Linked DNA regions of Homo sapiens: region 2 is linked to region 1. Evidence: promoter capture Hi-C in human tissues and cell types (Jung and others, 2019). All regions are on one chromosome and are shown on one strand. The core of a region is centred on a gene start or on the middle of the fragment in contact, and the rest is flanking DNA. Distances in the headings are between cores, read along the strand shown. Region 1 holds the start of BNIPL (BCL2 interacting protein like). Region 2 overlaps GOLPH3L (golgi phosphoprotein 3 like).

Region 1 (7,356 bases), core at 2,229-4,728:
TAAAACCTTACTGGGCCAGGCATGGTGGCTCACACCTGTAATCCCAGCACACTGGGAGGCCAAGGCAGGTGGATCACTTGAGGCCAGGAGCTCAAGATCAGCCTGGCCAACATGGCGAAACCCCATCTCTACTAAAAATATAAAAATTAGCCACACGTGATAGCACACATCTGTAATCTCAGCTACTCAGGAGGCTGAGGAACAAGAATCACTTGAACCCAGGAAGCAGACGTTGCAGTAAGCCTATATCACACCACTCTACTCTAGCCTGGGCAACAGGGCAAGACTCTGTATCAAAAACAAAAAACAAAAAAACTTATCATGACTCCCTATTGTCTATAAGATAAAACCTAAACTCCTTATCATGGCAGCAAGGGCCTCCATGATGTGACCTTTTTCTACTTAACCCAGCAGCACTATCTTTTGTCATTCTCTCTTCACCTCCCGGCCCTTCATATTAAAATAGTCATGCTCATACTTTGAATTCCCCAACATGCCATGCTATTGCTTGAGTTGCTTCTGCTTCTTCTCCTTAGAATGCCCTCTCTCCAACTACCTGATAAATGTCAGCTTCAGTTTTCAACACTTAGCTCAGAATCATCTCCTTCATGAAGCCTTTCCTAACATCTCTCAGGCAGAACTGACCTTTTCCTTCTCCCTGTCTACACTGTACCCTACACATATATAGATCATAACCTTTAACTGCAATTATTTTTATATATGTTTATTTCCTACTAAGCAGAGAATTCCCTGTAGGCCCTCTCTTATTCATCTTTATAACCCCAGTCCTATACATGATAGTATGTAACAGGCATTCAATTAAATTTTCCTTAATAAACAATGGGCTCCCCTCCCCCTCTACTGACTACTCTCACATTGGACCTATAAGCCCAAGTTCCATTTGAGGAAACTAATTTTGCTGGCCGTAGCCCTTGGTCCCACCTTATTAGTTCTAACTGCAGTCCCATTAAGTCCATCCTGATCCTTTAGCTCTAGCCTCTACTTCTACCAGCTGAGTCCTCTGGTTTGTTTCCCACCTTCCCATTCAAATTCATGTCCACTGTCCAGCTGCTCCGAGTCTGAAGGTGTCTCCAATTCGTCTATCTCCAGGTCAGAACTGCCATCAGGAGAGGAAGGTGCAGACTGGGTGGGTGAAGCTCCATCATTTCCAGGCCCCTTAGTCAGACTCAGCCGCAACTCTGGGGCAGAAAGACGCTTGCGCATGGGGCGCTGGCCACACAGGGCTAAAGTGCTGGGGGTACCTGCAGCTGGAGAAAGGGGGAAAAAGAGAACCAAGATGGGTGTGTGTGTTGGAGAGCCGAGAGGGCTAGAATTCCTGTATGTGAAAGTGATAATATGGGGTGAATGCTGAAGAAGGACTCACGCAGGGGAGATTTGGGAAAAGGGGGAAATGGAACTGTAAAAGGATAGAGGTGGCATAGCCCTTTACTGGACTAGAATCAAGAACTTGAGGCCTGGTTTCTACTTGACCTACCTGCCTGTGAATCTCCTTTAGGGTCTTCAGGATCTTCAGAAGTGCCAGCCTCCTCAGGAAGCAATCTAGAGGGGAAGAGATTAAAAGGCGGCAGACATATACACCAAAGGCATCAAGCCAGGACTCAATATATAGGTTCTCTCTCCCCACCATGATTTTATCACCTATGCTGCTTTTTTTTTTAATTGTTTTTTTGAGACAGGGTCTCACTCTGTTGCCCAGGCTGGAATGCAGTGGCACAATCACAGCTCACTGCAGCCTCTACCTCCAGGGTTCAAGCGGTCCTCCCACCTCAGCCTCCCGAGTAGCTGGGCCTACAGGTGTGCACCACCACACTTGGCTAAATTTTGTATTTTTGTAGAGATGGGGTTATGCCATGTTGCCCAGAGTAGTCTTGAACTTCTGAGCTCAAGTGATCCACCTGCCTCGGCCTCCCAAAGTGCTGGGATTACAGGCATCAGCCACCACGCCCGGCCTCTGTTTTCTTTTTCCCATTTTTTTCCTTCAAGTCCTAATTCACCATCCCTGTGTCCATTTGCTTTTTTTTTTTTTTTTTTTTTTTTTTTTTGAGACAGAGTTTCACTCTTGTTGCCCAAGCTCGGGTGTAATGGCACAATCTCAGCTCACTACAACCTCTGCCTCCCAGGTTCAAGTGATTCTCCTGCCTCAGCCTCCCGAGTAGCTGGGATTACAGGCATGTGCCACCACACCTGGCTAATTTTGTATTTTTAGTAGAGACGGGATTTCACCGTGTTGGTCAGGCTGGTCTCAAACTCCTGACCTCAGGTGATCCACCCGCCTCGGCCACCCAAAGTGCTGGGATTACAGCCATGAGCCGCCGCGCCATCCCCTCCGTCCATTCGTGACCACCCCTCCCTTCTCCCAGCCACCCTCACACGTCCTCACCTAGGGAATTCTTCATCCTGCCATTCCTCCTTCAGCTCCAACTCCCCATGTCTCAGGGCTGCTCCTAGTTCTGGTGCTTCTGCAATCTCCCTGACCCTAAGACAGCCCCCAAGAAGAAAAGATCAAGGGAACTGAATAGTAGGTAAGAATAATTGAAATGAAGAACAGTAATTGAGATACAGAGCAGAGGATAGGCCTTCAAAAGGACTCAGATCTCTTGCCTCCTATACAGATGCTTCTCTTACCTTCACCACTTGCTAGAAGCAGATTACCTGCTGTTAAGTTTGGGAGCAGACGAAAGATGGAATGTAAAGTTAATCATATTTACCTCTGTAGCAGTTGCTCCACCTACAAAGTTGGGGTGAGAGATGTCCCACATTACAAGTGGCTGGAACCCAGCTAGACCCACCCAGCTATCATTGAGCAAAGTCGGGAAGACGGTACCTAGTTAGGCCTGCCTTTCCTCCACCGAGCTGGGGAGTGGCTAAGGGAAAACATGGCATAAGTGGAGGGGTGGAGGAAGAAGGTAAGGAGAAAGATTTGCCAGAACGAGAACCTGGACCTAAACTCGGTTCTGGTTCAGCTTTCCTGATGGCCATTCTGGAGGGTGAGGGTTAGAAAATAAAAGAACACAGGCAGATTTATCAGGTACAACATATTACAGAAACTTCCTTTATTTTTAAACCAGGGAATTATCCTGGAATCCTGTTCCCCAGTTCCATACCATACTGACATTTCCTACCTAAAACCACCCTCATCTCTTCTCTGCAAACTCTCTTACAGTCTTGTCTCCTTGAGGAACCCGAGATTTGACCCAGTAAGAGCTGGGTGGTGGGGAAGTCTCTCCGGACTGTTTATTCACTGTTACCAATCAAGTGAGCCAAGATCTTACTTACCCAACATCTGTCTTTTTTCCTGCCTCTTGTATAGTTCCCATCTTCACAAGTCTTCCTGCCTCCTTCTTTAAACACCTAGGAGTTGTTGGGGAGCTGGTTGTCCCAGCCCCCAACACTTCCTTACCTCTTTTCTGTCTCAGCTGTTGTAGCTCTTGCCTCCAAGGAGGGAGGTGTGGAAGGGAGGTAACCTCATCTTCAAAACAGGTTTTGCCACTCCTCTCCCCAGGAGCAGGTTTGCCCAAAAGAAAAACCCTGCCTCCTGTGAGGGGGCGGGTTTTGGGGAGGAGAGTGCATTTTCTAGTGGGGGCCAGTCTCGGTTGAGTCTAGGAAGGCAATTTGTTCTCCTTTCCAGACTCCATATATCCCTCTCAAAGTTGCTCTTTACACAAATAAGCAAAAAAACCAGTAGAAACCGTTGTGTTTCTGGCCGGGCGTGGTGGCTCACACCTGTAATCCCAACACTTTGGGAGGCCAAGGCAGGCGGATCACCTGAGGTCGGGAGTTTGAGACCAGCCTGACCAATGTGGAGAAACCCCATCTCTACTAAAAATCCAAAAAAAAAAAAAAAAAAAAAAAAAAAAAAAAATTATCTGGGCGTGGTGACACATGCCTATAATCCCAGCTACTTGGGAGGCTGAGGCAGGAGAATCGCTTGAACCTGGGAGGCAGAGGTTGTAGTGGGCTGAGATTGTGCCATTGCACTCCAGCCAGGGCAAAAAGAGCAAAACTCCATCTCAAAAAAAAAAAAAAAAAGAAAAAGAAACCATTGTGTGTGTTTCTAGGACTGTTATCTTGGATCTACTTTTCAAGCATAAGGAAAACTGGGGAAACGGAAGTATGTTATAAGGAGGTTTCTGGGAGAATAAACAAGTTGAACGGGAGGCTGAGGATGAGGGGAGACAGAAGCCTGTTGCTCCTTATTCCCAAAAAGAGTCAACAGAAAGAAGACATTAAGTATAGTAGGAAGAAGGGGGATCAATTTTGAGGAGACTGAAACAACTATCACAGAGAAAGGCCTGAATACACTTGTAAAAAAAGACAGTAAGACCCCCAAACAGGAAAAAATTATTTAATAGTATAACAAAATGCAAAATAAAGTACCCAAGTTACAAAACATAAATTCCTTTGGTTCATGATCACACCACTATTTTTACCTTCCACATAGCTACAGACATCACACCCTCAAAGTGAAGTCAAACTGTCCCCCTCATACTGAAGATGTCATGCCAAAACCATCACATACCCCACTGTTCAGTGAAACTGTTGGCAACTTACATGGAACAGAGCTGTGGGGTAGGAAAAAGGGGAAAGGGTTGCGTTAAAAAAAATGGGGAGACTCTACACATGCAGAACAAGTTAGTGGGAGGGAGTGCTCTGCTGGGTCAACACGCCATGAACCACACCCCTATTCGTGCTACATGAGGCTGAGTCCTTGCTACAACCACACAGAAATACAGACAATCAAGTGAACCTGAGCACCCCCAGGGATAACAGAAGAAAAATACAGAGAAGCAGAGGAGAGAAAGAATGGCAGCAAGAGGCAGATCACAGAATACCAGGGAACACCTAGTCCAAACCCTGTTTTACAGATGGGGAAAGTGAGACCTGGAGTAGTGAAGTGTCTTGCCAAAATACATAGTTTATGGGAGCATTAGAACTCCATGCTTCCTTTTAATGTGAGCAAGGAAAAAAAGAGATTGACAAGAAATTGATAGGCCTGCTAAGGCAGGAGACAGACCCAGGCCTCTCATTCCAGTTCTGTTGTCTTTTTGGAAGAGTGCCTATGAGGTCATTAAGGCCTTTCTGGGTGTTTTCTTGATTCTCAAGAGTCAGGGTTCTGGGTGGCTCTGGGACAGAGGGATCCAAAGAAACAGCCAGGCCACCTGATCAGGACAGAAGACAATGGCCTCTAATCTGTTCCCAAACTAGATCTGAAACAGTCACAATAAGCTAAGAATAGAAATTCAGCCATCTCTGAATCAAACACCATCACCTAAATGGTGGCAGAAAGAAAAGTCACCGAGCTGATAATCTGCTGTAGGCTGAAAACTGGAATAAATTTCCAAAGCGCACTCTCTTTTCTCTCTAGCTTGAGGCAGGTATTCAATAAATACTTGAATGAACAAGTGAATAAATGAATACATGGAGACCATCGATGAATGTTCAGTTCCATGACAGATACTGGTTCTGTTCAAGATCCATGCCGAGGACACTTTTGGGGTCTAAATTCTTTTTGTCCCACTGTGCTGGGACTGCAGATATGTCACATCGTGCCCCTGGCAAATAAAATAGAGAGAGGTGCAGATTTAAATAATAAAATGTGTCTGATTGGTAGAGATTAGGGGGAAAAGGTGGAAAACCATTCTTAAAGCAGCTGCTTTCTTTCACTTTTTTTCTCCTCTCAGTTTTATGAGAACAGTATACCAGATCCTGGAGCAATGAAGACAGAATTGCTGAATCTCCAAACATCTCAAAACATGCATTTGAAGTGAGTCAGGTAGCCTCACCCACTACCTCCTCGCCTCTCAACAGTCACTTCTTGGACAGGGAGGCTGTGGTAGACTGTGACAGTGAGATCTGACTGCACTTCTCGAAGACGGCCTCAGCAGAGAGTTTAGGCAGCCCCTGATCTAGAGGGCACTCATCCACCAAGCTGTTCATGGGCGTCGGGGGCAGCGGAGGGTCCTCCTCATCTTGACTCAGGCCAGAAATCAGGGAGTTACTTGCCCTGTCCAATTCCTTGTCCACTTGCTCCCTGGACACATCTGCTGTCTCAGGCTGTCCTGAAGGGATCTTCATGGAGTCAAAATATGCTGACAGGGCTTCCTGGAGCAGGGGCAGAAGTTTCTTTCGAGAGACCTGGGTGTTGCCTTGAAGATAGGCATGGAGGTTAGGGTGGGTACTTGAGGCAGGGGTCAGCTTCAGGGGTGGAGAGTGGGAGCGTTCCAGGACTTCACAGATCTAAAGAGGAGACAATAACAGGGAAATGATACACAACTTGCTGTAGCAAAGTGCTGGGCTTCTAAGTGAGAGGCTTCCTCTATAGAAGAGGAAGCTTTTAAAAAGTAAGTCGGCCGGGCGGGGTGCGGTGGCTCACGCTTGCAATCCCAGCACTTTGGGAGGCCGAGGCGGGTGGATCATGAGGTCAGGAGATTGAGACCATCCTGGCTAACACAGTGAAACCCCGTCTCTACTAAAAATACAAAAAATTAGCCGGGCATGGTGGCGGGTGCCTGTAGTCCCAGCTACTCGGGAGGCTGAGGCAGGAGAATGGCGTGAACCCAGGAGGCGGAGCTTGCAGTGAGCGGAGATCGCGCCACTGCACTCCAGCCTGGGCGACAGAGCAACACTGCATCTCAAAAAAAAAAAAAAAAAGTAAGTCAGCCGGGCGCGGTGGCTCACGCCTGTAATCCCAGCACTTTGGGAGGCTAAAGGGGGCCGATCACCTGAGGTCGGGAGTTTGAGACCAGCCTGACCATCATGGAGAAACCCCATCTCTACTAAAAATACAAAATTAGCCAGGCATGATGGCGCATGCCTGTAATCCCAGCTACTTGGGAGGCTGAGGCAGGAGAATCACTTGAACCCAGGAGACAGAAGTTGCAGTGAGCCAAGATGGTGCCACTGCACTCCAGCCTGGGCAACAAGAGCGAAACTCCGTCTCAAAAAAAAAAAAAAGTAAGTTATCCTTGAGGCCGGGCACAGTGGCTCACGCCTGTAATCCCAGCACTTTGGGAGGCCAAGGTGGGCGGATCACCTGAGGTCAGGAATTCGAGAACAGCCTTGTCAACATGCTGAAACCCCATCTCTACGAAAAATACAAAAATTAGCCAGACATGGTGGTTCACACCTGTAATCCCAGCTACTTGGGAGGCTGAGATAGGAGAATCATTTGAACCTGGGAGGCGGAGGTTGCAGTGAGCCGAGATCTCACCATTGCACTCCAGCCTGGGCAATAAAGCAAGACAAGAAAAAAAGTAAGTTGTCCAGAGTTCGGTTTTATTGTTTGCAACAGAAGGAACACTAATATACACAGTATTTTTTTTTTTTTTTGAGACA
Region 2 (7,356 bases), core at 4,857-7,356, 350 kb after region 1:
TAGCTAGAAGTGAATTGGCTGCATACAAGTAGTAACAGCTCTTCTTTTCTACATAATTCTTCGACTTGGAAATACCATTGTTGTTTAGATTTTGCCTTTCATTTATTTACTATTTTCCTTTTTACTTTTTTTCTTGTTAAATTACCAACTTGAACAAAATTTACAGACCAGTTATAGTCTGTGTATTGTTAAAACTAATATTAGAGACATGCTTATGTGTACCTGGCCAAGATGTAGGTATATCAGAAATTCTTGCCCGGAAATATATTTTCCTGTTTGCTGAGAAGTTGATGAGCCTTCAGTTTTATAAAAGGCAAATAAACGAAAAGGCAAAACCAGCTCTCCAAGAGAATGTCAGAATAGGACTGAAGATTAGGTGATATAAATACTCTTTTGAGACGTTTACACATTACCTAGGAAACAGTCACTGACTGTATAAAAAGAGGATATAGAACTAAAAGCTATTTGGTTTGTTTTAGCTTTGAATAGGAATGATTAATTTCCTGCTGACCTTATGCACTGGAATTTTTGCTTTTGGGCTTGTCTTCATGTGTTTATAATGGTTAATATAAATTTTAGGAAATAGAATAAAAAATAAAGCAGCTCATTAAGAGCTATGGCCATGGTGAGTACTTAACATATTGGTGAGATACTGTACAAAATAAGCAGATGGCTGGATGCAATGGCTAATTCCTGTAATCCTAACACTTGGGAGGCCAAGGTAAGAGGATTGCTTGGGCCCAGGAGTTCAAGACCAGCCTGGGCAACATGGTGAGACACCATCTCTACAAAAAATTTAAAACAAAAAAATTAGCTGGACATGGTGGCACATGCCTGTAGTCCTAGCTACTCAGGAGGCTGAGTCAAGAGGATGGCTTAAGCCTCGGAGGTCGAGGCTTCAGTGAACCAGGATTGTGTCACTGCACTCCAGCCTGAACAACAGAGCAAGGCCTCAAAAAATAATAAATAATAGCACATAACAATTAACCACCTTTTGAATTGCTCTAATTTTATTTTTGAGGATAGTTAACAAATATTTAGCTTTCATTTGGCTCAGGAAGAATAAAAGACAATAAATCCTTAGGTGTAAATGAATAGAAGAGGTCAAACTTTGTGATTTATTTAAATAGTAGTAGTTACAAAAGGCCAGTTACATAACTATCTCTAAAAATATTAAATTGATTCCCAACTGTACTTATTTTTTTCTTATCTCTCAAACTATCAATAGATTCATTTAATCAATATTTAATGTGATTGAGGACACCCATTATGTGCTTAGGATTATGCTAAATATTAATACTAAGGTAAATATAAAATAGTATAGTATATGGTCCCTGCCTTCAAGAAACTTGCATTCTAGCTGGAGAGACAAAAAGATACATACTTTTTAAAAGTTAAGTAACCCGAAGGTCCATCAACAGCAGAATGGATAAAAATGAATCATCAAAAAAAAAAAAGAGTCATCCATTTGTTTAAATGAGTATAAATATGTTTTCTATACAGAATGAAAATGAACATTGTTATACAACATGTATATTTCTCACATTATGTTCAATAAAAAAAGCCAAACACAAAAATATACATACTGTATGATTCCATTTATATGAAACTCAAAAAACTATTGTATTTGAGGTTGCATATTTAGGTGGTACAATTATAAACAAAATCAAGCCAGGAATTACTATAGTTTTTAGAATAGTGATTATCTTTTTGTAAGGGATAGGGGAAGGAAAAGGGTGTTAGTAATTAGGAAGGAAAATGGAGAGGATTTCTAGATAGTAACAATTTTCTGTTTCTGGACCTAGAGGAAGTTTCATAGTTTTGTTTTTGTTTTTGTTTTTGTTTTTAAGACAGAGTCTTGCTCTGTCACCCAGGTTGGAGTATAGTGGCACCATCTTGGCTCACTGCAACCTGCGCCTCCCGAGTTCAAGCAATTCTCCTGTCTCAATCTCCTGAGTAGCTGGGATTACAGGCACCCGCCACCATGCCTGGCTAATTTTTGTATTTTTAGTAGAGATGGGGTTTCACCATATTGGTCAGGCTGGTCTTGAACTCCTGACCTCTCAGGCGACCCACCCAACTTGGCCTCCCAAAGTGCTGGGATTATAGGTGTGGCCTCCCAAAGTGCTGGGATTACAGGCGTAAACTACTGCTCCCGGCCTTTTTTATTTATTTATTTATTTTTGATACGGAGTCTTGCTCTGTCCCTCCTGGCTAATTTTTGTATTCTTAGTAGGGAAGGGTTTTCAGCATGTTAGCCAGGCTAGTCTTGAACTCCTGATCTCAAGTGATCCACCTGCCTTGGCCTCCCAAAGTGCTGGGATTACAAGCGTGAGCCACTGCACCTGGGCCATAGATCTTCACTTTGGAATAATTAAGCTTTTTACTTTGTTTTGTTTATTCTTCTGTGTGTACATTATATTTCACAATGCAAAATATTTTTTTTAAAGTAAACAACAATAAAAAGCAAGTTTTTGCATGTTAGAATGAGCCAAGGGAGTTAGAGAGAGGAGAAACCATCATGAGATAGAGTAATCCGGGGAAGAATAGAAAAAGGCAGTAAAACAAGCCATGCCTTTAAAAATGGGAGGATTAACATGAATGGAGAAAAGGAAACACGTTCTGGATGAGGGAACCTGAGTGAGCAAAGGTATCATGAGCTTGATGAGTTTGGGAGATAACTGTGAGTAGGCCAGTATGACTGAAGTAGGTGGAGAACAATGGGATTCAAAATCAGTAAATTCGATTTGGACCAGATTATAGATTTTGTTACCAGGCAGAGACTTTTAGACTCTTTCCTTTAGGGAAAAGAGAATCAGCCTAATGAAAACAGCAAAGCCCATTTCATTTTTGTGTCCAAATTAAGGGCTTAATAACATTTTTATGTTCTTTGTGAGTATGTTTTAATGTGTATATAATTGCTTGTTTTTACATGGTTTGGGATTTGTGACAAGTCAAAAAAGGAAAAAATCCTAAATGTTAAATTTTGTGTCCCAAACTCCCAAACTTTTACTGGAGAGTTCCCTAAGATCCTCTGTTTAGAACCCAGTATTATCATTTTTTTAGAAACTATGTGTCTTTCAAGCAGGCACGGTGGCTCCTGTCTGTAATCCCAGCACTTTGGGAGACAGAAGGATTGCCTGAGGCCAGGAATTCTAGACCAACCTGGGCAACATAGTGAGACCTCATCTCTACAAAAAATATAAAAATTAGCCTGGCATGGTGTCACATACCTGCAGTTTCAGCTACTTGGGAGATTGAGGCGAGAGGATTGCTTGAGCCCAGGAGTTCAAGGCTGGAGTGAGCTGTGTTTGTGCCACTGTACTCCAACCTGGGTGACAGAGTGAGACCCTGTCTTAAAAGAAAAAAAAAAATTCTTCTGAGGGGTAACTACCACAGACTGGTTTTAAAATATTAAGCATCTGGCCAGACGCAGTGGCTCACATCTATAATCCCAGCACTTTGGGAGGTTTGAGGCGGGCAAATCACTTGAGGCCAGGAGTTCGAGACCAGCCTGGCCAACATGGTGAAACCCCATCTCTACTAAAGGAAAAAAAAAATTAGCTGGGTGTGGTGGCATGCACCTGTAATCCTAGCTATGCTGATGGGAGAATCTCTTGAACCCAAGAGGCAGAGGCTGCAATGAGCCAAGGTCACACTACTGCACTCTAGCCTGGGTGACAGAGTAAGACTGCCTCAAAAAATATAAACTAATTAAATTAAATATTAAGTATCATTGTCTTATGAAAACAATCAAGAAATTTAAATATAATTTGAAGAGTATAACCTTTCAAGCACAGTTAAAATTAGATACTATCTCAGTTCAATAACACTGACCTCAACTGAGAAAGTAAACATTGAGCACAAGCCTGACCAAAATAAAATAGGTTTATCTCCTGTTGAAATCAGGAATCTGCTTATTTGTTATTATTGCCTTTGGTAAGAGTTTTGATATAGATTATTAACTCATGAACAGTGTTTTAATTGACTTGCTAATGTATAAAACTTTTCATTTATTAGAATCGTTTCTTAAGTTACCTGTAAGGGGAGTAAGCCAATTACTGCTTTTGACTCCTAGTGGTCTTTTCATTTCTCATCTATTTAATTTGTGGATAATGTTTTTCAACCATCCTCTCTTTCTTGGAAAGCTTTCTCCTAGTAATGCCATTTATTGAATACTTACTACTTACTGTGAAAGAAAAGCTTTTCATCATATTTCTCATGTCACTGTGGTAAAAATTGGCAAGAAGTATTATCCATTGGAAATATGGCAATACATTTTCACTTATTTGTTTAATCACCAAAAATTTTATTGAATGACTCATATGTCATAGAAAGAGAGAACAAAAACAATTGTCCCTGCTTTTGAGGTCAATTTATGGTTTAGTGGCATAGGGATGGTTGGAGATGCTGGGAGTAGAAGCCAGAAAGTCAGCAGACCATTTCAGAACAATGTGATATGTGTATAAGTGTGTTCTGAGTAGGAAGGAAACACAGAGGAAAAGCACGTAAATCAGATGGGTGGTGGGAAGGAGCAGTAGGAGAGGGAAGAAGAGATGTTGGGAAAGACTTACAGGAGGTGATAACTCTTTTTTTTGTTGTTTGTTTGTTTGAGATAGAATCTCATTCTGTCACCCAGGCTGCAAAGCAGTGGCGTGATCTTGGCTCACTGCAACCTCCACCTCCCGGATTCAAGCGATTCTGCTTCCTCAGCCTCCCAAGTAGCTGGTATTACATGCACCTGCCACCATCCCCGGCTAATTTTTGTATTTTTGTAGAGACGGGGTTTCACCATGTTGGCCAGGCTGGTCTTGAATTCCTGACCTCAGGTGATCCAACTGCCTTGGCCTCCCAAAGTGCTGGGATTACAGGTGTGAGCCACTGCGCCCCGCCAGGAGGTAATAACTCTTAACTGGAATAAGAGTGAGTTAGTCTGTAAAGAGACAGGTTCTAGGAAAAAAGAACATCAACTGGATGTTCCTAATAATTTCAGTGATGTGCAACTGGAATAACCACAGATGTCTGAAAGCATCCCATCTCCTTTTAATGAACTCCAGTGTTTTAAAACTGAAGTATGAGAGCTGAACATCCAGTTACATGCTTTATTGTTTAAGTTTTCTAAAATTGTGAAATACAGTGTATCCAGAAAATTGTATAAAGCACATATATACAGTTTAACAAGTAGTTTGAAAGCCAACAGTCATGTAATCACCAATAGAACAATATCAGCATCCTGGAAGGCTTCTCTTATGCCTGCCCCTAATCACATGCTGCCCACTTCCCTGTAGTTTTGACATGTATGTATATCCCTAAACAATATATTTTAGTTTTGCCTGTTTTTAAACTCTATTTTATTGGGTTAATATTTTAATGTATTCTTTTGATCAATATAATGTTTGTGAGATTTGTCCATGTTGTTGCATATAGTTTAATCCAGTTCATCCTGATTAATATTTCATTACATGAATATACCACTATTCATTCTATGGGTTAATGCACATTCAAGAGTTCATTATGAACAGTGCTGCTAAAATTCTCCTGGTACTTGTCAGTTATCTTTTTTCAAACAATCTACTGTTATCCACTATACGTATGGGAATTATACGTATGAAATTCATATGTATTTTTAATTATAAAGTATGTTAATGCTACGCTTTTTCAAGCTGCTGATGATCCTCCATCAAGTATAGTTCATCTTTATTAGCAATAGGAGATTAGAAGTAAAAGCTTCTTTAAAGCTGGTAAAAAAAATTCACTAATCAAAAAGTTTTTTTTTGTTTTTTTTTTGAGACAGAGTTTCGCTCTTGTTACCTAAGCTAGAGTGTAGTGGCACGATCTTGGCTCACCGCAACCTCTGCCTCCCGCGTTCAATTCTCCTGTGTCAGCCTCCCAAGTAGCTGGGATTACAGGCATGCACCACCACGCCCGGCTAATTTTTTGTATTTTTAGTAGAAACGGGGTTTTACCACGTTAGCCAGGCTGGTGTCGAACTCCTGACCTCAGGTGATCCGCCTGCCTCGACCTCCCAAAGTGCTGGGATTACAGATGTGAGCCACCACGCCCAGCCCAAAAAGGTTTTTAAAATCAGTCACAGTCAGTCAGTGTCCAACTTGTTGATTATTGGCTATGAATGAAGAAAATTGGCCGCCTTAAAAAGTGACTCAATCCTAAAGCATTTTATTATAATTAAAATATTAATAGCAGGCCGAGCAAAGAACAAGACCTTGTCTTAAAAAAAAAAATTAAAAGTCTAATTTAAGTTACTACCTGGTCTTTCCTTTTAGTTTCCTAATCGCGCAAAATGAACAATAAGTCTCCCAGTAGCTACTGCGATTGTGAATAGGGCAACTGTATCAGAAGGGCTTGTTTGTCAGGTTTTTTTCTTTAAACATAAGCTGTTAAAAAAATTAACTTTTGTTTTTTATTATATCCAGGCATATTAACCCCAAATAACTATTTACTATTGGTATAAAAGGAAATAAACTGGAAGACCAAAGACCTGTTTTAATAGTAGGAAAATATAGCTTAAGCTATTTCATTAAGATCTTCTCCCTAATTCTTCCAATCCCCAAATGCACACAGTACTCTCCCAAAATATAAAATATCTAGTATTGATATTGAGACAAAGCTGCCCACTTGAATTTGGGATTTTGGCTGTAACCACTGTGCCTATAAACTTGCTGTCAGCCATTTCATCACTTTTGCCTCCATATTTTGTTTGTATAATTTATTTTCAAAACATTTTGCAGTTTCTATTGTTTAATCCTGCAAGGCAGGTATCATTCTCTTTATAGGAGTCAAAGTTAAATGATCATTTGGGCAATAAATTGTGGAATTTACATTCAAACTGACTCTGCAACTGGGCGTGGTGTTTCACTGCCTGTATTCCCAGCAGTTTGGGAGGCCAAAATGGGAGGATTACTTCAGGCCAGGAGTTCAAGACAAGCCAGGGCAACAAAATGAGACCCAATCTCTACAAAAAAATGAAAACAGCCCTGCGTGAACCTATAGTCCCAGCTACTCAGGAGGTTGAGGTGAGAGGATCACTTGAGCCCAGGAGTTCGAAGCTGCATTGAGCTATGATCACACCACTGTGCTCCAGCCTGGGCCACAGAGCACGACTCTGTCTCAAAACAGGAAAAACAAAACAAAAACAAATATCTGACTTTGCAGTTTAAAAAGGACATGCTGGCTGGGTGCGGTAGCTCACGCCTGTAATCCTAGCACTTTGGGAGGCCAAGGCAGGCAGATCATGAGGTTAGGAATTCAAGACCAGCCTGGCCAATATGGTAAAACCCCATCTTTACTAAAAATACAAAAATTAGCCGGGTGTGGTGGCACGCACCTGTAATCTCA

Evidence for each region. Contacts are between HindIII fragments. The study calls those that stand out against the background at their distance.
Region 2: a contact is called between a fragment that was not itself captured here and the fragment with the promoter of BNIPL in region 1, in 3 of the 25 tissues and cell types used here (IMR-90 fibroblasts, lymphoblastoid cells and mesenchymal stem cells).

Annotation. Positions count from the first base shown.
Region 1 is chr1:151,032,708-151,040,063 of GRCh38, reverse strand. BNIPL (BCL2 interacting protein like) reads right to left here and starts at 3,478. Exons shown (of 10, transcript NM_138278.4): 1 at 3,298-3,478; 2 at 2,402-2,497; 3 at 1,496-1,560; 4 at 1,038-1,268. The coding sequence starts at 3,338. It overlaps PRUNE1 (prune exopolyphosphatase 1), which reads right to left. Exons shown (of 8, transcript NM_021222.3): 8 at 4,351-6,258. The coding sequence ends at 5,830. The HindIII fragment of the contact is 8,096 bases long and covers 2,603-7,356 here.
Region 2 is chr1:150,686,007-150,693,362 of GRCh38, reverse strand. The region is part of intron 2 of GOLPH3L (golgi phosphoprotein 3 like); the gene reads left to right. Among named protein-coding and RNA genes, the nearest start is that of GOLPH3L, 7.5 kb to the left of the region's middle. The HindIII fragment of the contact is 5,683 bases long and covers 3,265-7,356 here.